Linked DNA regions of Homo sapiens: regions 1, 3, 4, 5, 6 and 7 are each linked to region 2. The links are contacts of gene promoters, found by promoter capture Hi-C in blood cells and fetal thymus (Javierre and others, 2016). All regions are on one chromosome and are shown on one strand. Each heading gives the region's core, a stretch centred on a gene start or on the middle of the fragment in contact. The rest is flanking DNA. Distances are from core to core; before and after follow the strand shown.

Region 1 (3,359 bases), core at 709-3,208, 350 kb after region 2:
CTGATCTGTCCAATCACAATCTGACCACTCTTTAGATATCATAGTGTTGCTGGATGGTGGTGACTTCACCTAAACCAGATTTTCAGCGCTGATAGTCCCAGTGTGTGCTGCTGCAGCATGAGGTGGACGGTGTGTCACCAGGCTCCATGCCACATAAGCAAGAGCACTGGCAGGTACTGATGTTCTCTGTGATAACCTCTTCCTGTGGGACTGGCTTCTCAGAACTAACCCAGGAAATTACCCAGAGTGACACAAGAAGCACTACTGACACCTCGTGGAGTCAGCAATATTAAGCTTTCTAATGTTTTTGCATCTGATCTGCATTTTGTTTGACAGCAATCTCAGAACTCAAACTTAATCTGCCCTTAAACAAATCTCTTAACCACTCTCCCTCCCTGTAGATAAAAGGATAAAAAACCTGGTTACTAGCGTGTATCTCCACAGTGGCTGTGGTAACTCATATGTCCCTTTACTTTTTGTTGGATTTCCCACTCAAGTCTCAATTTTGAGATGAAATTGGAGACTTTTTTTTTTAACCTTTAGCATAATTCTCTAGCTGCTGCCCTTGACAATAGTGACTATTTTTAACATCTGAAAGCATTGTAAACCAGTGGTTGTACTTCATTGATTGCAACTTTATAAGTAGAATTTTTAACATTATATTAAAAAGAAATAAAAAATAATAACATTTAGGAAATCATACTACATAGAGATAGTTTATCTGTTCATGATTTCTCTGGGAATGAGGATGGCAGGAGAAAATTAGGTCTTTGCCATATGAGGCCTTTGTGAAAAATAATACATTTTGGACCAAGTGGTATGAAGAAACACTCTTCTACCAGCTATCTGTATGTGTTTTGAATTGATTGTAATGATACATTTAAAGTAAATGTTCTTTTGCTTTTAATGGCTAAAGTCATTGAGCCAAGAGCAAGGGGGAATTGTTTCTGCTCCTTCTGCCCCTTTGTAGGATATTGATTGTTCCTCCTGTGAATTAAAGTCAAAATATGTTTAACCATTTCTGATTAGTATCAATTAATTAACAAATCTGTTAAACCACTTACTTTTTGGACATTTAATCTTATTAAAAAGTAAGCCTTATTACATAAAAAAAAGTTTTGAGTCATGTAAGGTTATTTGATGTTAATTTACAGTTAGGCAGGAGTGGCTTTCAGAGTAAGATGACCATATAATTTTGCCATCTGTTCACCCAATTTTAACAGAAAAAAATTATTTTAAGAGAAGGCAATTAAGTGGCAAATATGGCAAGTTTCGGTTGTTGTAGAATGCATTCAAAATTATAGGAACTTGGAGACCTCTCATGTTTTTTATATGGAAAACATTTTCTCCTCCTTTCTTACTTCTCATAAAGTGGGCCAGATGGAGAACATATCCCCAGGACAGATCATTGATGAACCCATCCGACCAGTCAACATTCCCAGGAAAGAAAAGGATTTCCAAGGGATGCTGGAATACAAGAAGGAGGATGAGCAAAAACTTGTTAAGAACCTGATTCTGGGCAAGTATTTTCTGCATTGGATAAAAGTTCCTTCTGGCACATGGGTTAATGGTGGGAAAAACTAGTCACTAATTTTTGAGATATTCAGCGTAGGTTTCATTAGTCATCATCAGATACCATGTATTCTAGTGCTGCAGTAGTGTTCTGACCACACCAAGCACTTTCAGTCCAACTGCAGGGACACATGCCTCAGACCCACCTACAAGGATTGCTCAAGATCAGGTCTTCTCAGCCCTGGCTGCACATTAGAATCACCTGGAAGCTTTGAACCATACTGATGTATCTCTCTCCCTCTTGCCCAGTTAAATCAAAATCTCTAGAGAGAAGAGCCTGGCAATGTCTAGTACTTTAAAAAAAAAAAAAAGAAAAAGAAAAAACCCTCAAGGCCAGCCTCGGGAAAATAGCAAGACCGCATCTCTCCAAAAAAAAAAAAAAAAAAAAAAAAAATTACCCAGGCGAGGTGGTACATGCCTGTAGTCCTAGCTGCTCAAAAGGCTGAGATGGGAGGATCATGTAAGCCCAGGAGTTCAAGACTACAGTGAGCTGTGATTATACCACTGCACTCCACCCTGGGCTACACAGCAAGAGTCTTTCTCAAAAATAATAAAAAGCTTCTTAAGGGATTCTCAAGTGTAACCACAGTTGAGCACAACTGCTCTAGGCCGTTTAGGTTCCTGAATTTCAGTTTTTCCTTACTCCCCTAGAAAGGTTTGCAACTAAATAGGTCAAGGACGGCAGTGTAATAATAGGGAAGAAACAAAAAAAGGAAAAGATTCTAACAAAGGAAGGAATGGACAGAATAAATGAGATGAGAGTGGAAGAAGCATTTCAGGGCAGCACACTGCCTTTAAGATTGGGTCTGAGCCTGCTGGCTTTGCAAGAAAACTTTTTAGAGGGTGGTGGTAAATGATTAGAGTGTACACACCGTAAGTTGTGAAGTGAAAATCCTAAAAACCTCTCCTTTCAGCCTTTGCACAGCATTCCTCCCGCCAGGTGCCAGGGTGACAGCAGTGTGATTGGCACTTATACCTGATGGAATGTTCCTGGCATTAAACTTAGTACTATATATAGTTGCACAGGTGCTTAAGTTTCAACATGAATTTCATTTAGCAAAAATGTTAAGGAGCCACTGGTTTTTAAGCATAGAATTAACAGATTTATCAATTCAGCAAAGAATTAACAGATTTATCAATTCAGCAAATGTTTAATGAACTCTTATCATGTGCCAAGCATTTTCTAGGTAATGAGCAAAGTGAAGTACCCAGTCTTACAGAGTTTACATTCCAGGGGAGAAATAAAGAAAATAAAATAAACAAATATATGATGGAGTAAAAAGAATAAAGAGTGAAGGCAGGTATACTGGTTTGTGTAAAATTGTCAGGAAACACTCTTTGGTAAGGTGATCTTTGGACAGACACCAAAGGAAGTAAGCTAACAAGTCATGCTAATATCTGAGGAAAGAACATTCAAGGCAGAAAAACAGTAAGCACGTAGGCCCAGGGCAGGGAGCATACCTGGCATGTTTAACCAACAGCAAGGAGACCCATTTGGAGCAGAGTGAGCTGGAGTGGGGAAGGGGAATAGGGCCAGATCCTATGCTATGGTGAGGATTTTGGCTTTTATAAATGCTTGACATGAGAAGCTGCTTGGAGGATTCTCAGAACGAGAGTGACATGATCTGACCAACATTTTCCGAAAGAATGGCCCTGATTGTTGTATGGAAAATGCAGTACTGGGGAGCAAGAGATGAATTAGGGAGGCCAGTTAGGGAGCTATTGCAGCAGCCCAGCAGGAGATGATGGTGGCCTCCATGGGACATCTGTAGCTGGTAGAAGCAGTG
Region 2 (3,392 bases), core at 412-2,911:
CTTTTTACCTCTTTTGCATTAGATAGAGGAAGAAAGAAGCTAAACCAGATTTTGCTGCCTGTTCACCCAGTAAGCCTTTTACAATAGCTGTTATTTGGTCCCAGCTGTTGTGCTAAATTTAGGTTTTTGGCTTATCTGTAACTGTTCTGTCTCCCATTACCAAGTGCTTGTAGAACAAGTAAAACTTCAGTTCATTTTTTAAAAACTACATAATACAGTATTCAATAATATCAAAGTCAAATCCACTGGGATTTAACATTTGTAGCATTTTATAGATTAAAGAACTGTTTCCATTTGTCAGTTTCATCGTCATGATGCCAGAACATTTCAGAGAAAATGAAATGTTACCCTCCTGAATGTTCTCTCCGCTCTGATTAGATACAATCGTGGAGTTAAGGTTAACAATTTCAGTTGTACATGTTATTTTACTGTACATATCTAAGCACTAGAAAATGTTACTTTTTAAATATTTCATGCCTTTTTCATAAGAACTTTACCTGAGGCCAAAAAAATGGAACTGCCAATCTTGCAGTTTATAAAACTCTTCTGATGTGAAAATAATAGACTCATTGTAAAAAAAATTTTAAAACAGAAGGGCACAAATAAAAAAAATCCCCTTAGACTTGTCCTAATACTTTCCTGTGATCCTTTTATGCAAAATTATATCTAAAAAAAAAACTTTTTCTAATGAAACCAAAGAGCCTTGCAAATTTTTACTTGTCTCCATTTGGGCTCATGCCCCATATGTACTTTGTCTATAGACTGAGTAGCTAATAGCTGCAGCGCTTGTTAGGATTGGGTTTTTTTTTAAGTACAGCAGATTCCTGTCATCTGTTTGTGTTTAAATGACGACAACATCACAACATGAAATGCCATCATGTCACATTGCTATAGCACAACAACAAAATTACAGCTCCCCAACAATAACATGCTGTCAAAGTGTCCTCCTGCCCATGAGTCAGTGTTTTAGAAGTTATGAAGATTATTTTTAGCACAGCGAGTGTCTTGGAAGCTTGGGTTCTGAATCCTACTAAAATCCTTAGTGATTTGGGAAAATCTAGGGTGGGGGTGGGCTTCCTGTTCTTAAATTCTCCCACTCCCTGACCCGCATAGCTGCCCACCCCCCGTCCCGGTCACATTAAACCCGGGTTCCATTATGCGCTGCAATCCACTTGGGGCTCGATCACAACTCTGTGCCAGCATCCCGGGAGGAGGAGGAGGAGGAGGAGGAGGGGGGGAAGGAGGGGGAGGGGGGAGGAGGAGGAGGAGGAGGAGGAGGAGGAGGAGGAGGAGACGACGACTATAATTATCCTCCACGTCTGGGGCAGGCCTTTGGATGACATCTCCCCAGTTACCCTGCGCTCTAATAGCGCAGCTCCGATTCCTGGTCTCAGAATCCAGGCGCGCCTCTGCCGGCTGGGAGCGCAACCGAAGTGCCTGGGACGTCTCGGGCTTCCGGGACTCTGCTGGTGTCTCCCAGCCGCCATCTCCAGCGCCCTCGCACCCGCCGGGCACCTGCACCGAAAACCCGGCCCCAAACTAGCGCCCCGGGGCGAGCGGCGGCATTGCCATAGTAACCGGGCGCCAGGGCCGCGGAGGCCGCCGGGGAGGAAGTGACGACCGGGGTGGGTTGGCTGTTGTTGGGACACGTGACCTAGGCAGTGTTTTGACAGGGCAAACAGCAGAGAAAGAACTGGCCGAGCGAGGGGGACGGGGAGCCGGGGCGCCAGAGCTAGAGACAGCGGGCGGGCAAGGAGCTGGCAGAGGCGCTGGGCAAGAGGGCCGGCCGGGGCTACGGGCGGGGGAAGCCCGGGGGTCGCGGGGCTCGGGTGCCAGTCAGGCAGGGCGGAGGGGCTGAGCGCAGGGAGCGGAGCGAGGCGGTGGCTGAGGCGCGGGTGGATGGCCACAGGGGCGCCGGGGAGCCGCTTCGGGCTGGTCGTCTCGGGTCCCCACGGTCACCTGAGGCAGCCGCGGGGGCCGCTGCGCTCCATACTCCGCTCCCGCTGGCCCTGCGCCTCTCGGAGCCTGGGGTCTGAGGTGGGAGTGTGATGTGAGCTGCTGGGCGAGCGGTGGAGAGAAGTGCCAAGAGGAGGCGGGATTGGGACGGGAGAGGAGAGCGAGTTAGTCAGCAGAGGTCGGCCGAGGGAGCGGAGGAGCCGGCCAGCTCGAGAGCGCCATGAAAACAACTCTCCAGCGGGGAGAGGGGCAGACGCGGCGCTCGGTGCGGCGGGGCTGAAGGAAATCCGGGGCCGCGGCGGGACGGAAGGGGTTGTGCAGAGCAGGGGGCGAGCACAGGCTGTAAACACCTCCCCCGGAGCCGGCCGCGGAGGACTGGTTGGGAGTTGGTAGGGTCGCCCCGGGACAGCCCGGAAGAGTTCGTTTGGGGCTGGGGGCTGGGCGGGAGGAGGTGACTCGGGTTTCTGTGTAAACTTGGCCGCGGTTGCCGCAGGAAGGCTAGCCAGAGGGTAATTACACAGGTGAGGCCCGGCGGGGCGGGCGGAGGGCTCGGGAGGCGCAGGGGACTGGAAGAGTTGGCTGCGCCCAGGCACCAGGTGGAAGAATTTCCATACCAGCCCTGCGGAGGTGCCTCTGTTTCCAGAGGCGTTTTTGTACGAAGGGGTTAGTTTGTGTTGCTCAAATCTTTTTCTTCTTCTTGCCTGTACCTCCAGGTTATAAATAGATCCTGTTTTGGTTCAGAGACTGTGTCAGAAGGACACATTGGCCTGGAGAGCACAGAGGCAGGGAAGGGGGTGCTCGATCCGGAGGAGATGGGGGAGGCGGTGCAGAGAGTTTTGCTTTTTTCAGACCAGCCGAGGGTGCTGTCACCGCAGTTGGTGCCAGGAAGAGGCCTAACTTAACAGTAGTTTACTTGCAAGGTCCGGGTATTAGAATAGGGCCAGATTAATTTTATTTTTGTCTCTTTCAGCATTTTGAAAGCGAAGCAGAAGCCGTAGAATCAGCGGCGAGCCTGTTGAAAGAACCCACAGGTGCATTTCACAGCACTCTGGGCGAAAATTGGATGTGAAAATGAAGCCAGACCGAGGTAAATGATTTGTTTAAGTAGGGCTTGTTCCCCCACCCCCTTCTTTTCTATGCCTCAATTTAGAAGTGTTAACCTAATTCTGCAGTAGGATCAACTATTTCTGTATCATATGTGATTATCTGTTTTTGTGACAGATTCCAGCTGGTGAGGTAGAGAAAGGCATATGGAAGAGAAGGTTAAGCGTTTTTACAAAAGTGCTTCTGAAGCACTAGCTTCAAGAGAGATTCTAGTGTATCTCAAAATGAAAGTAAAGAATGGTATTTGTATCTGTTGCCACAATACAGGTATCATTTTAGAGTTGTACTTGCTCGTTTTTAGGTAGTCAATCTAACTTCAACTTTCAAGAAGT
Region 3 (3,473 bases), core at 414-2,913, 410 kb after region 2:
GGTAGGAAGATTGCTTGAGTCAGGAGGTGGAGGTTGCAGTGAGCCAAGATTGCACCACTGCACTCCAGCCTGGATGACAGAGCAGGACCCCATCTCAAAATAAAAGTTATCAAGAGCCAGTGCCAAGTTAAATGCCCAGTGGATAATTTTGTGTAAATATTTAGGGTTTGTCTCCTCTACTAGACTGCACACTCCATGAAGGCGGGACTGTATCTATTTGGTTTACCTTTGTTTACCGAGCGCATGGCACATAGTAGGTGCTCAGTAAAGACATGTTGGCAGGCAGCATGATGACCTGGGTCATCTAGAAACAGGGTGCTCAGGAGAGGGTGGGGAGGGGCAGAGGAGAGATGAAATTGAAGAACAGAAGTAAAAAGCAAAAATCCTGCCCAGAGAGTGTGAGGGATGGGAAGGAGCAGTTTTTTGGTTGAGTGGAAAGGTTGAGTAGGGAAGCAGTAAGGAGTAGGGATTGGAATAAAGGTTGGATGAAAGATGTGAACTTCTAGTTGAGCATCATAGGTATTTGGGGCCTGAATGAGTTGAGGCACCTCATATTCTCTCATTTAATCCTCCCTACTCTGTAAGTGTTCTGGTCAGTCTGGGCTGCTATTATAATAATAAATATAATGTACTTTAGTATAATATACTTTAGTGTCATTGACCAGGTGGCTTATAAACAACAGAAATTTATTTCTCGCAATTCTGGAGGCTGGAAGTCCAAGATCAGGGGGCTAGCAGGGGTCAGGTTCTAGAGAGGCTTCTCTTCTGGGTTGCAGACTGCTGTCTTCTCACGGTACCCTTACATGGCAGAAAGAGAGCAAGAGAGGTCTCTGGGATCCCTATTATGTAGGCATTAAAATCCCACTCCCAGGGGCTCCACCCTCGTGACATCATTACTTCCCAAAGGCCCACCTTATGATACCAATACATAGGGTTAGGATTTCAGCATGAAGATTTTGAGAGGACACAAACATTCAGTCCATAACAGTGAGTTGCTTATGATTCTCATATTACAGATAGGGAAATTAAGACCTGGAAAGATGAATTAACTTTTTTGTTTGTCTGTTTTTGAGACAGGGTCTCGCTAAGTTACCCAGGCTGGAGTGCGGTGGTGCAATCATAGCTCACTGCAGCCTCCAACTCCTGGGCTCCAGCAATCCTCCCATCTCAGCTTTCTGAGTAGCTAGGACTACAGGCACACACCACCATGCCTGTCTAATTTTTTTTTTATGTTTTGTAGAGACGGGGGTCTCACTGTGTTGCCTCATCTGGTCTCAAACTCCTGGCCTCAAGTGAATTTCTTGCCTCAGCCTCCTGAAGTGCTGGGATTACAGGCGTGAGCCGCTGCACCTAGCCAGTGAATTAACTTTTAAGACATTACACAGATAGCAAAGATAGAACCCAGGACCCTGAAACATCAGAACCTGTGCTCTTTCTGGTCCTCCCCAGTATCTGCCAGTGGGACCAAGGAGAACCTTGAGCAGCAGGCTCATGTTCTGATTTGTCATGTTCCCTGCCAGCGTGGGGTTGCTTTCTTTCCCCAGACTTCCCTCTGCCAATCAGACCTTCCCCTAGGGTACAGGATTGCCTTTTACTAAAAACCCCTCCAATAATTTTGAGGCAAAAATCTTTTAATGTTGTTATTTCAATAGAGTCTTATTTTTTTTAGGCCGTTGGAAATGCCAAGACCACCCGCAATGACAATAGTAGTCGGTTTGGGAAATACACAGAAATCAGTTTTGATGAACAAAATCAAATTATAGGAGCCAACATGAGCACTTACCTCCTGGAGAAATCCAGAGTTGTCTTTCAAGTAAGTATTAAATTTCCTTTTCCCCAACTTTTTGAGCATTATTTACATTTACATACTTATTATACATACTCAGGCAAGCTACACTATGCTGTGAGTTGAAGAGTAGGGTTTTCTTGTCTTTCATTTGCAGTTTGGATTCTTTTTTCTGTTTATTAAAAATTGATGGATGAATAGGTGTAATATCAGGTGAGTTGTATGTCTGCAGGAAAAGGTTAATGACTTTTTAATTTGGGGGATTTACAAAATCCTTATAGTTTAAAAAGCAAGTATCTCTTTCTAGAGTACGAAAACTGTTTGAAATAGGCTAAGCTGACAGACTGGCTTTCCTATCAGGAAGGGAATGGGATCAGAGCTATTGAGGGGGTTTTAAAAGAAAGGCTTTTCTGCCAGTAAATGGAGAAATTTCTCATCGTTTTGGCCCAGGAGGAGAGCAACAGAAAGCCTTGTATTGCAGGAAGTTTGTAAAAATTTCACTAGGATGAGTTACGCCATTCCCATTTCATAGGACGTTTTCATTTAATAACACTTTCTCTGGGTTGCTCATTACTTGGAAGGCCATCTCAGGCCACCCAGTTCTCAGCTGAGAGGAAGGGCCTGCTTGTGAACTGGCCAGATCACATCCCAGACAGAGAATTATCCATGCGGATTAGATATCTAGGACCCTCTAGTTAAAAACCTGGCATTTTTGCTTGTAAGGATTTGGTGTAATTTTGAGGACATTTCTTTATCTTACAGTCGGAAAATGAACGAAATTACCACATTTTCTATCAGCTTTGTGCATCTGCACAGCAGTCGGAATTTAAACATCTTAAATTGGGTATGTGATGGATCGTGTATGAAAGGGTCTCTCTTTTATGGAGGGCTTAAATTCTAGGTTAACTTTCTTCTTATAGTAATATATTTGTTTTAAGTATTTGCCCAAAGATACAAGATTCTTTGGTTTCAGGGACAGAATTGGTGCATCTAATTAAGGGGATGGATTAGGGCCGGGGGGATGAGTTTAGAGAGAGGGGGCACTTGTAAGACTGAGGGTTATTTTTAAAGCTCATTGGGCCTGGCGTGATGGCTCACACCTGTAATCCCAGCACTTTGGGAGGCTGAGGAGGGTGGATCACCTGAGGTCAGGAGTTAGAGACCAGCCTGGCCAACATGGCAAAACCCTGTCTCTACTAAAAATACAAAAATTAACCGGGTGTGGTGGCACGCACCTGTAGTCCCAGCTACTTGGGAGGCTGAGGCAGAAGAATTGCTTGAACCCGGGAGATGGAGGTTGCAGTGAGCCGAGATCACGCCACTGCACTCCAGCCTGGGCAACAGAGCAAGACTCCGTCTCAAAAAAAAAAAAAATAGCTCATTGGGTATTTATGGTCCTCCAGCTAGAACCACCTGAATAAGACCTCCTGACAGCTGGAACATATGATGTCACCAAACTTTCCATTTTATTTGAACATGACATGTTAACCCACTTATTAAAACAAACCACCTGTATCATAATTTGACCTTCCTTGATGGCTCAAGGTCATTCATTACTTGTAGTCATAATTAATTATATTCCAGAGATGGCTAAAACATAGGGCTGTTTGTCCTTCAGTACAAAAGGCCCCGAGCCCCGTGCTGTCACAGCTCTCCTGCCTTAGCCATTTGTGCTATGCTGGTAGAT
Region 4 (3,184 bases), core at 1-2,500, 460 kb after region 2:
GTGAAGTCAAGTGTAACTTCCGGCAGGAAGCATCCCGGCTCACTTTGGAAAACAGGGTGAGAAGTCTTCTAACTTGGTGATAAAGACTGTCTGTGTGCAGATGTTGCTGAAAGGGGGGACATGCCACCTAAAGCATATGATTAACATCTATAGACCAAAAGTCCTTCCATCAGAGCAGTCTGTTTTCTTATCCCAAAAGACAGGTGGTCTCTGAGGTTGGCTTTGGGAAGGCCTTGGGGACTTACAGGCCCGCCTGGGGAGGGTGAAGGAGGAGAGACAGAGAGGTGCAGGCCGTAGTTCCCCAGCACTATCAGTGCACGGCACCACCCAGGATGGAGTCACTGTGCTCTGGAACACACTGAGGATAGCAAGGCCTACGTGTGAGTGCTTTACCCAGCAAAACTCACCCCATATAAGTGCCCATGCTTTCTTCTGGGGGTATGGCCTTCCTACAATTTTTAGAGTCAAAATGTTCTTCTATGAAATGATCATGATGTCGATGGAAGGCTTAAAAACTTTTTAAAAGTGTTTAAGGTCTTTTCTGAGTTTTAAATGCCCTTACCAAAATGAAATCGGGTAACCTTACATCAATTCCCAGCAATTATTTTGAAATTGTGATGCTGTGTGGAACCCAGAAGACTGAGAAGTGCTGAAGTGACAGGCCACTTTCCTAGGAGCTGGGACCCTCTCGGGCCCCTTCGAAACCTGAGAGCTTCCAGCTTCCAAGAGGGTAACGCAGGAGGGCTGACGAGTCCAGTGGGTCAGTGTGGACATGCCCACGTACCCTTCTCCCTGCTGACAGGGCCCCCATTTCCAATCTCACAGGAAAACCTTGATAGAGGAAAAACATATTTTGAGTGTCAGGGTTTAACTTTGAAGAGTGGTTACATCCAAAAAGAGAAATTCCAGGAGTTTGACATTTAATAGGAAGTAACAAATTCCAATCAGTGACACCTACATGACAGCTGCCTTTTCTGAGGTGGATACAACTTTCTCAGAGACTGGAATCCTCGTGTTACAACAGAGAAGCAACCGCCTGTTGTCCATGTGTGAGGCTGCCTTGCCTTGCCTTGCCTCCTGTGGGCCCCTGGGATCTCAATGGAGTCAGCGGTCAGGGAGAAGCTACATGGGTGGGTCATGTGTGTGCTGCGCATGTCATCCCATGTGATCCTTTACTCTGACTGTCCCTGTGCATTGTGACGGATTTATGAGTTCGTTCCTGGTGCCCTGGAGCACAGCTCGGTCCTGGCGCCCTCTTCTGGAGCTCCTCCAAGTGTCTGGCTCTGCTCCCCACAGGTGCGCTGAGCTAAGGAGCTGGCAGGCCTGACATGCTCATTTCAATAGCTCTTTCTGAACCCGGAGTAGCCTCACTGTTACATAGAAGCAGACGGACACACAACAAGAGTATCATCTCTATACATTAGCCGGCGGATTCTACCCACAAATGAGACCTGATCTGTATTAGTTTGCCAGGGCTGCTGTAACAAATGACCACAAACCAGGTGCTTTAAAACAACAGAAATGTGTTCTCTCAATTATGGAGGTCAGAAGTCTGAAGTCAAGGTGTCAGCAGGGCACACTCCTCCGAAGTCTCTAAGGAAAACCCTTCCTTGCCTCTCCCAGCTTCTAGAGGGCTCCAGGCATTCCTTGGTTTGGAACAGTGTAACTCCAGCCTCTGCCTCTCTGCACCTGGCCTTCTCCCTGTCTCTGTGTTCTTTTCCATCTGTTATAAGGACACCTGCATTGGATTTACAGCCCACCCTAAATTGTAGTAGCCACCTCTCATACTGACCCTTAGCTTACCACAGCTGCAAAGACCCTATTTCCATATAAAGGCACATTCTGGAGTTTGGGTTGGACATGAATTTCAAGGTGACACTGTTCAAACCACTATGTGATGCTTTGAGTCAAAGAAATTTCTTTTTTTTTTCCAGACTCTTTTGTCACTGAATTCTTATTAAGAGATTAAAAAAAAACTTTTAGTAATCATTTCACTATTTATCAAAGAAATTCAAAATCAAAACTAGGTACTATTTTTGCCTGTCAAATTAACAGAGACCTGGGCCTGGCACAGTGGCTCATGCCTGTAATCCCAGCACTTTAAGATGTCATGGCAGAAGTATGACTTGAGGCCAGGAGTTCAACCAGCCAGGGCAACGTAGTGAGACCCCATCTCTACAAGGAAAACTTTAAAAATATATATATAGTGGTGCATGCCTGTAGCTCTGGCTACTCAGGAGGCTGAGGCAAGAGGACTGCTTGAGCCCAGGAGATTGAGGCTGCAGTGAGCTATGATCACACTACTGCACTCCAGCCTGGATGACAGAGCAAAATCCTGTCTCTAAAAATACTACTACTAATAATAATAATAATTAATAGAGATCTTATGCTGCTGGAGAGAACATCTTGAAATGGGCACTGTCATACATGGTTGCTGGGAATATAAATTGGTATAAACTTTCTTGAGGGCTTATTTGAAGGTATGGATCATGAACCTTTGGAAAGTACATTCCCTTTGACTCAGTAACACAACTTGTAAGGTTCTATCCTAAGTAAATACTTGAACATGTGGACGAGATTTTTGTTCAGAGTGATCATCTTAGTGTTATTAATCATAGAGAAAAAAAGCAACCCAAAGGAGAGAAATGCATACCTAACAATAGAGCAAAGGTTAAATTGTTGTATGATATAATATGACTTGGCTGTTAAAATGATGGTTTGAGTATATTATCAATGACATGGGAAAACGTCTGCAGTATAACTAGAGAAAAATGTAGGATTTGAAATTTTGCATGTAATATGATCCCAATTTTATAAAATGTACATTTACCATATTGGGAAAAAAGGAATGAAATCAAAATGTGAAGAGTGGTTTTTTTCTGGGTTATGGGTTGATGGGTGACCCATTTTATTAGATATATTATAAGATGGGCTTGAATTGGAGGGAGGAAGCTGTACTGACACCGCCACTTCTAAGGTCAATAGAGTTCCTAACATGTCTAGCCAGGGACACAGAATGGTGGCAGGGAGAGAGGTGGCCGCACAGAGTAGAAACAGCACAATGTCCCTCGGCCCCAAGAGTCCCTAGAGGGCACACAGCTGCAGTGACCCTGCATGGTGGGTCTTTCTGGGTCAGAGAAGCCTGAATTCTATATGTGTCAAATGCTCAGATGTGGAAGAACTT
Region 5 (3,497 bases), core at 112-2,611, 380 kb after region 2:
TTAGTAGAGACGGGGTTTCACCGTGTTAGCCAGGATGGTCTCGATCTCCTGACCTCGTGATCCGCCCGCCTCGGCCTCCCAAAGTGCTGGGATTACAGGCGTGAGCCACCGCGCCCGGCCAAGTTTTTATTTTCTCACATCCTAGGCAGTATCTGAGATTGTCTAACCTAAATGTTTTTGCCAATATGATGGGTAAAAAGCAATATCTCATTGTTGTTTTCATTTGTATTTATCTGATTACTGCTAAAGTTGACATCTCCTTGTATGCTAACAAGCCATTTAAGTGTCCCCATCTGTGAATTGCCTATTAATTTTTGTCAGTTTTAAAAATTGGATTTCTTTTCTTTAACCGATTAACAATTCTTCTATATGGAAACTACTATAACCCAACATTTTAAAGATATTATCCCTCTTTTATTCCTAATAATTTCCCGGTTTTAAGTTTTAATCGTGAATCCATCTGGAGCTTATTTTTGGATGCAGTGTTTGCCACGGATCTGCTTTTATTGTTTTTCCATATAACGGGCCCATCTAATAAATATTATTTTATTTCCCTATCTGGTCCTTAAGGCTACCGTATAATGTAGGGCCCTGCTGGGGGGCTCCAGCATGTTCCATTACTCACGTATCCGTTCTCACGCAAGTGTCACACTGTTTTAATGACTACTGCTTTGTTATGTCCCTAAATATATGGCAGGACAAATCTCTCCTCTTTGAGAATTGTCTTAGTTATACAGGGCTTTTATTCTATATGAAATATAGAATCATTGTACAATTCTCCAAAAGTTCTGTAGGATTCTGACGCCAATATATTAGGCATATATATTGATTTGGGTAGAAGTGACACCTTGACCATATTAAATATTCCCAGCCAGGAAAATGGCATGTCTCCCGTTTACCTGGGCCTTCTTTTAAGCTCTTTAAGAGAATTTTAAACATTTTCTCCACAAAGGCCAAGGGCATTTTTGCGAGTGTAATCTCTGGATACTTTATATTTTCACTAATATTGTAAATATCTTGTATTGCATAGACAATGCTCATATAAAGGACCATTACTTATTTTTGTATTTGATTTTGAATACGATGACCTTGCTGGACTCTTAACACATTTCTTTGTGTTCAGTACGTTGATTCCCTTGGGTCTTCCATTTAAATGGTCGTATCCTCTGCTCTTTGAGGAGCTAACACTCGGGCCGGGCAGCCTCCGGATGCATCTGTTCCTGCCTGGCAGCGCGCCCCGGGCCCCAACCTTCTCCACCCGCGCTCCCGCCAGGTGCAGCCGCCCGGCCCCGGCCAATGGCAGCGCCGACTAGCCGGGCCAAGCTTGGAGGGACCAATCCCGCCGCTGCCCCCTCCCCTCGCCGCCAACTCGGGAACGGGAACAGGAGGCCGTTGGAAAACTTTGGGCAAGATGGCCCGGCGGTGATTTCCGCGGCGGTCTCTCCTGCGCCCGGCCTCTGCGGCGCAGGCCCAGCCCCCGAGCCTCGCACGTTCGGCAGCCCCGGCCTGGCCCCGGCCCCTCCTGCCCATGGCGGTGGCCGAGCTGTACACGCAGGTAGGAGGGTCCGCTGGGCTCCTGGGAGCGCTGTGGGGGAGCCGGCCCTGCTAACGCTGACTCGACCTGGCGCCCGGGCCACACCTGCCACACCTGCGCACCTGACACGGCAGGGCGGGCGGGCGCGCGCTGGGGGCCGCGGAGGCGCCGCGGAGGGGCCACGGGGACCGGGGACACGAGCGAGCGTCGCCCCTCCAGGGCCCCGGCGTGCTCCGTCCCTGCCCGCGGGTAAGCCCCCTCCTGGCTCCGCTGCGCCTGGGTGCCCTGTGGGTGGGAAGACCCTGTGGGAGGGGCCGCCCCCTCCGCCGCTCCGGCCTCGGGGCCTAGAATCCCCAGTGCCCAGGGGTCGCGCGTGCGTCCCCATCTCCCGGGACTGGAGCGCCTCGGTCCCTTCCTACCACACCACGGGTGGAATCAGAGTTGCCCATGCGGACGTAGGAAGCTGAGACGCCGGCCAGTCTCCTGGCCCCTCCTGGGACCCCCTTGAACGAGCTGGCATAGAAGCTTATGGCCGCAGTGTTCGGGCTGCTTTCTAGAATTCTGTGTCTTCAAAGTGCGTGAACGTGCATGTAGGCTCATCAGAAGCTGAAGCAGCCTGGGTCACAGGCTTGAGGGCACTGCAGTGGCACCAAGCGCTTGGGGAGCCCAGGGGCCACGAGGTGCAGTCGTAGGCTCTTTGCCTAACATCTGTACTGTTAGCAACAGTACAAACACCACAGTTTCTAAAGCGCCTTTCATATACCCTGACTCTGGGAAACACTAGAGCATTCCTCAGAAGCTTCCTTTCTGCTGGCTGGGGCTCCACCTCTTACCTCGGAAGGGCAGCGTTCCCACATATGTCCCAAACCCTCTGAGATGGGCTTGGGTAATTATTTGGATAAAGAGTGTGACAGTGTTAGCACTTTTGAAAAAAAAAATCCATTTGAATAGCCATAAAGCCTGATCCTCCTATACACCAGTTGGGGAAATCTAGAGACCTCAGTATTCAGACGAGTGGAACTAGAATCCATCCATTTCCCCGGACACATGCTCTAGCTTTCTACTTTAAAAGATGCTTTTGCTGTAGATAGAAAAGATAGTTATTTAAAAAATCATGTTTCAATGGTTTAAGCAAACGTTTTTCTTCTACTTTGATTACTTAGTAACAGTCCGGACACAAAGCAACCGAACTGTAGTTTCTCCTCTATTGCATCTCCATTAACTGGAGTTCTAAATGGACAGTGTTTGAATTGCCCTAGTTTTGTTCTAGAATATTTTCACCAGTGAGACTGTGAGCCCTCAGACAGCCAACAGCGCTTCTTCAGCCTTCAGTTTACTGGAAGTGAAAGAAAAGTCTTGGACTAGTCTTCGACGATACTTTGGAGGACAGAGAAAAATGCTGCTGCTGAACCTATTTGAGGTGACAGTATTTCCAGAAGCAGAAACACACAGGTGCAAGCACCCCTATTTTTAGGTGCCTCAAACCTCAGATATTTATTAAATGTCTAGTAAGTACCAGGCACAATGTAAGAAAACTGATAGGAAGGAGTTTAAAGGTACAAGCTTGGAGGGAATGAGAATCTGAGAATCCCAGAGACTGACGCAGCCTGATGGCCATTCCCACTGACCTTGTGTCCACGTAGACACCTGTGTTCCTAGGCTGCCACCTCCCTTCCTGGTGGGCAGTTAGCCCCCATTTTGTCTGTTCTGGAGGTGTGAAGGGGAGGGCCATGGCAGCCAGAGAGCGAGGTCAGGGCTTTATTCCCCAGTGTGGGTTTTGAGTGGGGGCTGGCAGAATCAAGGGTGGTGTGTTAGGACTGTTAGATTTGTTATGTATGCCAGCAGCGCCCTTGGGCTGTGGAGGAGAGAGGCCGGGGTCACGTAGCTGAATTCTCAGGTCATTCCAGCTGTTGGAAAAGAATTAGAGCTGCAGTGTTGGCCATGGAGGGTGGAGGCAGGTGAG
Region 6 (3,585 bases), core at 551-3,050, 510 kb after region 2:
ATTCGTGCATGTATCTTTTAATAGATTGGTTTATATTCCTTTGGATATATACCCAGTAATGGGATTGCTGGGTCAAATGGCATTTCTGCTTCTAGATCTTTGAGGAATTGCCACACTGTCTTCCACAGGGTTGAACTAATTTAATTTACATTCCCACCAACAGTGTAGAAGCATTCCTTTTTCTCCGCAACCTCACCAGCATCTGTTACTTCTTGACTTTTTAATAATCACCTTTCTGACTGACATGAGATGGTATCTCATTGTGGTTTTGATATGCATTTCTCTAATGATCAGTGATATTGAGCTTTTTTTCATGTTTGTTGTCTGCATGAGTGTCTTCTTTTGAGAAGTGTCTGTTCATGTCCTTTGCCCACTTTTTAATGGGGTTTTTTTTCTTGTAAATTTGTTTAAGTTCTTGTAGATTCTGGATATCAGACTTTTATCAGATGGATAGATCACAAACATTTTCTCCCTTCTGTAGTTTGTCCCTTCACTCTGATGTAGTTTATTTTGCTATGCAGAGGCCCTTTGTTTTAATTAGATCCCATTTATCAATTTTTGCTTGTGTTGCAATTACTTTCGGCATTTTTGTCATGAAATCTTTGGCCCATGACTATGTCCTGAATGGTATTGCCTAGGTTTTCCTCTTTACCTCTTTTCTTTTCTTTCTTTTCTTTTTTTCTTTTTCTCTTCTCTTCTTTTCTTTTTTTTTTTTTTTTTTTTTTTTTGAGACAGAGTCTCGCTCTTGTCACCCAGGCTGGAGTGCAATGGCGTGATCTCTGCTCACTGCAACCTCCGCCTCCTGGGTTCAGGCTCTTCTCCTGCCTCAGCCTTCTGAATAGCTGGGATTACAGGTGCCCACCACCATGCCCAGCTAATTTTTTGTATTTTTAGTAGAGACGGGGTTTCACCATGTTGGCCAGGCTGGTTTCAAACTCCTGACTTCAGGTGATCTGCCTGCCTCAGTCACCCAGGCTGGAGTGCAGTGGTGCGATCTCGGCTCACTGCAGCCTCCGCCTCCTAGGTTCAAGTGATTCAAGTGCCTCAGCCTCCCAAGTAGCTGGGACTACAAGCATACGCCACCACACCTAATTTTTGTATTTTTAGTAGAGACGGGGTTTCACCATGTTGGCCAGGCTGGTCTCAAACTCCTAACCTCAAGTGATTCGTCCACACTGGCCTCCCAAAATGCTGGGATTACAGGCGTGAGCCCCCACATCCGGCCTGGTATTGCCTAGATTTTCTTCTAGGGTTTTTATAGTTTGGGGTTTTACATTTAAGTCTTTAATCCATCTTGCATTAATTTTTGTATAAGGTGTAAGGAAGGGGTCCAGTTTCAGTCTTCTGCATATGGCTAGCCAGTTCTCCTAACACTATTTATTAAATAGGGAATCCTTTCCCCATTGCTTGTTTTTGTCAGGTTCATCAAAGATCAGATGATTGTAGGTGTGCAATCTTATTTCTGAGCTCTCCATTCGGTTCCATTGGTCTGTGTGTCTGTTTTTGTACCAGTACCCAGCTGTTTTGGTTACTGTAGCCTTGTAGTATATTTTGAAGTTGGGTAGCCTGATGCCTCCAGCTTTGTTCCTTTTGCTGAGGATTATCTTGGCTATATGGGCTCTCTTTTGGTCCCATGTGAATTTTAAAATAGTTTTTTTTCCTATTCTATGAAGAATGTCAATGGTAGTTTAATGGGAATCGCATTGAATCTATAAATTACTTTGGGCAATATGGCCATTTTCACTGTATTGATTCTTCCTATCCATAAGCATGGAATGTTTTTCCATTTGTTTGTGCCCTCTCTGATCTCCTTGAGCAGTGGTTTGTAGTTCTTGAAGAGATCCTTCACTTACCTTGTTAGCTGTATTCCCAGGTATTTGATTCTCTTTGTAGCAATTATGAATGGGAGTTCACTCATGATTTGGCTCTCTAGTGATTTTTGCACATTGATTTTGGATCCTGAGACTTTGCTGAAGTTGCTTATCAGCTTAGGAAACTTTTGGGCTTAGACGATGGGGTTTTCTAGATATAGGATCTTGTCATCTGCAAACAAAGATAATTTGACTTCTCTCTTCCTATTTGAATACCGTTTGTTTCTTTCTCTTGCCTGATTGCCCTGGCCAGAACTTCCAGTACTATATTGAATAGGAGTGGAGAGAGAGGGCATCTTTGTCTTGTGCCAGTCAAGGGGAATGCTTCCAGCTTTTGCCCATTCAGTATGATATTCGGTGTAGGTTTGTCATATATGGCTCTTACTATTTTGAGATATGTTCCTTCAATACCTTGTTTATTGCGAGTTTTTAACATGAAGGGATGTTGAATTTTATTGAAGGCCTTTTCTCTGTCTTATCGAGGTAATCATGTGGTTTTTTTCTTTAGTTTTTTTTATATGATGAATTATATTTACTGATTTGTGTATGTTGAACCAATGTTGCATCCTGGGGATGAATCCAACTTGATAGTGTTGGATAAGTTTTTTGATGTGATGCTGGATTCAGTTTCCCAGTATTGGGAATCATTTATTGATGATTTTTGCACCAATGTTCATCAGGGATATTGGCCTGAAGTTTTCTTTTTTCTTTTCTTTTTTTTTTTGAAATGGAGTCTTGCTCCTGTTGCCCAGTCTGGAGTGCAATGGCATGATCTTGACTCACTGCAACCTCTACCTCCTGCGTTCAGGCGATTCTCCTGCCTCAGCCTCCTGAGTAGCTAAGATTACAGGCGCCTGCCACCACGCCCGGCTAATTTTTTGTATTTTTAGTAGAGACAGAGTTTCACCATGTTGGCCAGGCTGGTCTCAAAGTCCTGACCTCAGGTGATCCACCCGCCTCAGCCTCCCAAAGTGCTGGGATTACAGACGTGGGCCACTGCACTCGGCCAAAGTTTTCTTTTTTTGTTGTGTCTCTGCCAGGTTTTGATATCAGGATGATGCTGACCTGATAAAATGAGTTAGGGAGGAGTCCCTCCTTTTCAATTGTTTAGAATAGTTTCAGAAGAAAGGGTACCAGCCCCTCTTTGTACCTCTGGTAAAATTCAGCTGTAAATCTGTCTGGTCCTGGACTTTTTTTTGTTGGTAGGCTATTTATTACTGCCTTAATTTCAGACCTCATTATTGGCCTATTCAGGGATTCCATTTCTTCCTGGTTCAGTCTTGGGAGGGTGTATGCATTTAGGAATTTATCTATTTCTTCTAGATTTTCTAGTTTATGTGCATAGAGGTATTTGTAGTATTCTCTGATGGTTGTTTGTATTTCTGTGGGGTCAGTGGTGATATCCCCTTTATCATTTCTGATTGTGTCTATTTGATTCTCCTCTCTTTTATTAATCTATCTAGTGGTCTATCTATTTTATTAATTTTTTCAAAAAACCAGCTCCTGGATTCATTGATTTTTTTGAAGGGTTTTTCATGTCTCTATCTCCTTTAGTTCCACTCTGATCTTGGTTATTTCTTGTCTTCTGCTAGCTTTGGGGTTTTTTGCTCTTGGTTCTCTAATTCTTTTAGCTGTGATGTTAGGTTGTTGATTTGAGATCTTTCTAGCTTTCTAATATAGACATTTAGTGCTAAAATTTCCCTCTTAACACTGC
Region 7 (3,322 bases), core at 706-3,205, 490 kb after region 2:
ACCCTTCTAAATTTTTTTTTTTTTTTTTTTTTGAGACTCCGGAGTCTCGCTCTATCGCCAGGCTGGAGTGTAGTGGCATGATCTCGGCTTATTGCAACCTCCGCTTCCTGGGTTCAAACAATTCTCCTGCCTCAGCCTCCTGAGTAGCTGGGACTACAGGCACCTGCCACCACGCCCAGCTAATTTTTGTATTTTTAGTGGAGACAGGTTTCACCATGTTGGCCAGGATGGCCTCGATCTCTTGACCTCGTGATCCGCCCACCTCAGCCTCCCAAAGTGCTAGGATTACAGGCGTGTGCCACCGCGCCCGGCTGACCCTTTTAATTTTTAAGAGTGTTCAATCCGAGATGAATCATTTGAAGTATTTTTATATGTATATCTATTTAAAACTAATATATTATTAAAGCTTAATTGCCATGCCGTTTATCTTCTCTGAAAGAACTTCAAATCTTACCTGCCAACATATTCACCATAATTTTTTTATTTTTTAATACCTTTCATACAATAACTTTTTTAAAACAACCTCAGATTGAAAAAGCAACCTAAATTACTTTCGCTCTCTAATCAGCATTTCAATGTATTTATTTTTAAATTTTCTCAAAAAGTAACTAAAAAATTGTGTCGGACCCTACTTTTGAGAAATCTACGTTTCCCAAGTTTTATGGGAACTGGCTATTCCTTGTCCCGGCACACCTTCTCATTCCTTCCTTTCAGAGCCTAAAACCTCATTTGATAAGCACTCCTAGTCTCTGGCCTGTGGATCCAGTGCTATTCTGTCACCAACCTAAGAATCCCAATTGCACCTTCTGTTTCTGACAGTCACAGGTGACAGCTGTGATTCTATAATACAGACTGGTGTCTTAGAGGTAGGAATAATACATGATTATGAAGCATCACCCTGCTAATACATAATAATGTCTTTTTATATTATAAGTGATTGAGTTTAGTTCATTTCAATACATTGTACATGAAAAAATGAAAAGTAGAACTTTGTAATACTTTAATCAATAAAATTAATTACCAAATGAATTGGGTCAGATTCTTTCATTGCGAGGAGATGACATGTCTCTTAAGTGTACAAGTTGTATGCCTTTCTTTACGGTCATACTGAAAGATGCTAGAATCTTTATAGATTCATAATATCTCATTTAAAGTATATTAAAATGTTTAGAGAAGAAGTAAATATGTCATAAGTGCTGGCTTAGGCTGTGTCTCCAGGGCGCTTCCACACTGTCAGAATGAGGGGCTACTTGGCAGAGAATTGGCAGGGTTTCTGATCCTGAGCTGCGGCCTCCATGCCCTTTCTAGACCTTCCCCACACCATGAGGAGCCATCACTGTTGGTTTTCGGCTTCCATAACTCAGGATTTATGCCTGTTTTATAGCACTTACCCTGGACTGGAAGCCAGAAATGCTGCCCATTTCCTCTGTAGGCCTGTGAGCCCCAGAGGGCAGGTGCCACATCCTCCTCATCCCTGCCTTCATCCTACTGCTGATGAGGTGGGAAGAGAACTGAAGGAGCAAAGTCCCGTTGGAGGACTGTGTGTGTGTGGTGGGGAGTCAACCATGGGAAAAAGTAGGTCATGTTTGGGGACAGGGAGACCTGTGGAGGCTGAGGAGTTTATGTGTGGAAAAATGGGGAAAGGGAGGCACTCATCCCACAGTCTTGATCAGTTCTACAAAGCTGACAGTGGCAAGGAGACCAAAATAGAGAAATGTTAAGAACATGTGGCCCAGGTGAATGTGAGGGCTGCTCAGTGAGTGGGCGCAGACACAGAGGTCAAACCTGCCAAGGCCTCCCTCCACAGAGGGGCTGGGCAGGTTCCAGGGGTGAGTGAGGGATGCAGATGGCAGTGCGTGCCCAGCAGGGAGCATGGAAGTGCTGTGGAGGAAGGAAGCAAGCTGAGCAGCACTCCAGAGAAGATAAGGAGATTAGCCAGTGGGAGACGTGCTTCACACCTCAAGCTGCGCGCTGGTCCTCACCTCTCACCATCTGCTCTGTGGCTCCCAGTGCTGACTCTGGAAGGTATGTGCATGCTGACATTCGGTTAAAATACTCCAGCTTTTGAAATGCTCAGAAAAGCATCCAGATGAGTACAGGGCACAGTGTTAGCAGGTCTTTCTGTGCGGTGGGAGCATGGGTGAGGGGTTTTGTTGTTGTTAATCCGTAGAATCTAATTTTTCTACAATACACATGAATTTATTTTGAAATAGTAAATTTCAAATATTTCAAATTGAAATATTTCAATATTTTTTACATTAATATTGGCATCAGGAAAGAGATTAAGCATACTTAAAATCACTAAGTCAGTTTTAAAATTTGATCCAGGTGACACATGGCAACATAAGCCTCTGAGTACAGCTTATGGGGTTAGAAAGAGGTTTTTAGTTGTAAGTCTGAGATACATCCACATTGTGTGTATCAGTTATTTTTTATTCTATGCTCATTTCACAGTTTCGTCTGTGACTGGTGAACATTTGGGTCTTTCAAGTTTAGGCCTTCTATGAATAGCTGCTATGACATTTATGTTTTTTTTTTTTTTTTTTTTTTTTTTTTTTTTTTTTTTTTAAGGAAATAAGCATTATTTTCTGTGGTGTATGTATGCACGAGTAGAATTGCCTGGTCATAGACTATATCCGTTTCACTTTAGTAGCTCCTACCAACCAGTTTTCTACAGTGGTTATACCGACTTATACTCCCACTAGCAGAGAAAGGCAGTTCCAGTCTCTGCATCCTTGCCCACACTTTGTGTTGTCAGGCTTTTTAGGTTTTCTGATGGCTAAGTAGTTGTATCACATCGTAGTTTTACTTTGTATTTCTATGATGACTAATGATAATGAGCACCTTTTTATATGTTTATTGACCATATAAGTATCCTCATTTGTGAAGTGACTACACAAGCCTTTTGTCCATTTTAAAAATAATCTTTGGGCTGGGCGCGGTGGCTCATGCCTGTAATCCCAGCACTTTGGGAGGCTGAGGCGGGCAGATCATGAGGTCAGGAGATTGAGAGCATCCTGGTTAACACGGTGAAACCCCATCTCTACTAAAAATACAAGAAATTAGCCGGGTGAGGTGGCGGGCGCCTGTATTCCCAGATATTTGGGAGGCTGAGGCAGGAGAATGGCATGAACCTGGGAGGCGGAGCTTACAGTGAGCCGAGATTGCGCCACTGCACTCCAACCTGGGCGACAGAGCAAGACTCTGTCTAAAAAAAAAAAAAAAAAAATTTATTGAGATATGATGTCCACGTTTTGTTTCATGTTTTAAAACCCATCATTTTAAAACATATATTTCAGTGTTTTTTAAGTTTATTTACAAG

Evidence for each region. Contacts are between HindIII fragments. The CHiCAGO score rates a contact against its expected background, and 5 or more counts as called.
Region 1: a contact is called between a fragment that was not itself captured here and the fragment with the promoter of ATOSA in region 2, in 6 of 17 cell types (total CD8 T cells, non-activated CD4 T cells, naive CD4 T cells and 3 more). The highest score is 10.0, in total CD8 T cells.
Region 3: a fragment that was not itself captured here is called in contact with the fragment with the promoter of ATOSA in region 2 in 8 of 17 cell types (naive CD8 T cells, M0 macrophages, M1 macrophages and 5 more); the score reaches 6.8 in naive CD8 T cells.
Region 4: a fragment that was not itself captured here is called in contact with the fragment with the promoter of ATOSA in region 2 in 1 of 17 cell types (non-activated CD4 T cells); the score reaches 5.3 in non-activated CD4 T cells.
Region 5: the fragment with the promoter of MYO5C here is called in contact with the fragment with the promoter of ATOSA in region 2 in 15 of 17 cell types (endothelial precursors, M0 macrophages, M1 macrophages and 12 more); the score reaches 23.3 in endothelial precursors.
Region 6: a contact is called between a fragment that was not itself captured here and the fragment with the promoter of ATOSA in region 2, in 4 of 17 cell types (fetal thymus, naive CD8 T cells, total B cells and 1 more). The highest score is 6.7, in fetal thymus.
Region 7: a contact is called between the fragment with the promoter of GNB5 here and the fragment with the promoter of ATOSA in region 2, in 8 of 17 cell types (naive B cells, total B cells, naive CD4 T cells and 5 more). The highest score is 7.8, in naive B cells.

Annotation. Positions count from the first base shown.
Region 1 is chr15:52,328,513-52,331,871 of GRCh38, reverse strand. It overlaps MYO5A (myosin VA), which reads left to right. Exons shown (of 42, transcript NM_001382347.1): 35 at 1,373-1,519. Among named protein-coding and RNA genes, the nearest start is that of MYO5C, 34 kb to the right of the region's middle. RefSeq lists an enhancer at 1-124. The HindIII fragment of the contact is 349 bases long and covers 1,784-2,132 here.
Region 2 is chr15:52,677,657-52,681,048 of GRCh38, reverse strand. ATOSA (atos homolog A) reads left to right here and starts at 1,661. Exons shown (of 13, transcript NM_001385016.1): 1 at 1,661-2,221; 2 at 2,927-3,043. The coding sequence starts at 3,028. LOC105370821 (a long non-coding RNA gene) reads right to left here and starts at 1,444. Exons shown (of 4, transcript XR_932255.4): 1 at 1,356-1,444. RefSeq lists a silencer at 1,726-2,045 and enhancers at 2,626-2,765, 2,896-2,965. The HindIII fragment of the contact is 2,387 bases long and covers 1,015-3,392 here.
Region 3 is chr15:52,270,920-52,274,392 of GRCh38, reverse strand. MYO5C (myosin VC) reads left to right here. Exons shown (of 41, transcript NM_018728.4): 6 at 1,670-1,813; 7 at 2,549-2,630. Among named protein-coding and RNA genes, the nearest start is that of MIR1266, 4.5 kb to the left of the region's middle. The HindIII fragment of the contact is 8,241 bases long and covers 1-3,473 here.
Region 4 is chr15:52,215,391-52,218,574 of GRCh38, reverse strand. It overlaps MYO5C (myosin VC), which reads left to right. Exons shown (of 41, transcript NM_018728.4): 32 at 1-56. Among named protein-coding and RNA genes, the nearest start is that of GNB5, 26 kb to the right of the region's middle. The HindIII fragment of the contact is 5,613 bases long and covers 1-3,184 here.
Region 5 is chr15:52,293,668-52,297,164 of GRCh38, reverse strand. It overlaps MYO5C (myosin VC), which reads left to right and starts at 1,361. Exons shown (of 41, transcript NM_018728.4): 1 at 1,361-1,555. The coding sequence starts at 1,529. It overlaps LOC105370819 (a long non-coding RNA gene), which reads right to left and starts at 2,281. Exons shown (of 4, transcript XR_932250.3): 1 at 1,954-2,281. RefSeq lists a silencer at 1,538-1,697 and an enhancer at 3,139-3,308. The HindIII fragment of the contact is 736 bases long and covers 1,326-2,061 here.
Region 6 is chr15:52,166,682-52,170,266 of GRCh38, reverse strand. All of the region lies in intron 3 of GNB5 (G protein subunit beta 5), which reads left to right. Among named protein-coding and RNA genes, the nearest start is that of CERNA1, 12 kb to the left of the region's middle. The HindIII fragment of the contact is 5,734 bases long and covers 1-3,585 here.
Region 7 is chr15:52,190,025-52,193,346 of GRCh38, reverse strand. GNB5 (G protein subunit beta 5) reads left to right here and starts at 1,955. Exons shown (of 13, transcript NM_016194.4): 1 at 1,955-2,025. MYO5C (myosin VC) reads left to right here. Exons shown (of 41, transcript NM_018728.4): 41 at 1-1,025. The region is part of intron 2 of CERNA1 (competing endogenous lncRNA 1 for miR-4707-5p and miR-4767); the gene reads right to left. RefSeq lists an enhancer at 1,358-1,857. The HindIII fragment of the contact is 7,593 bases long and covers 409-3,322 here.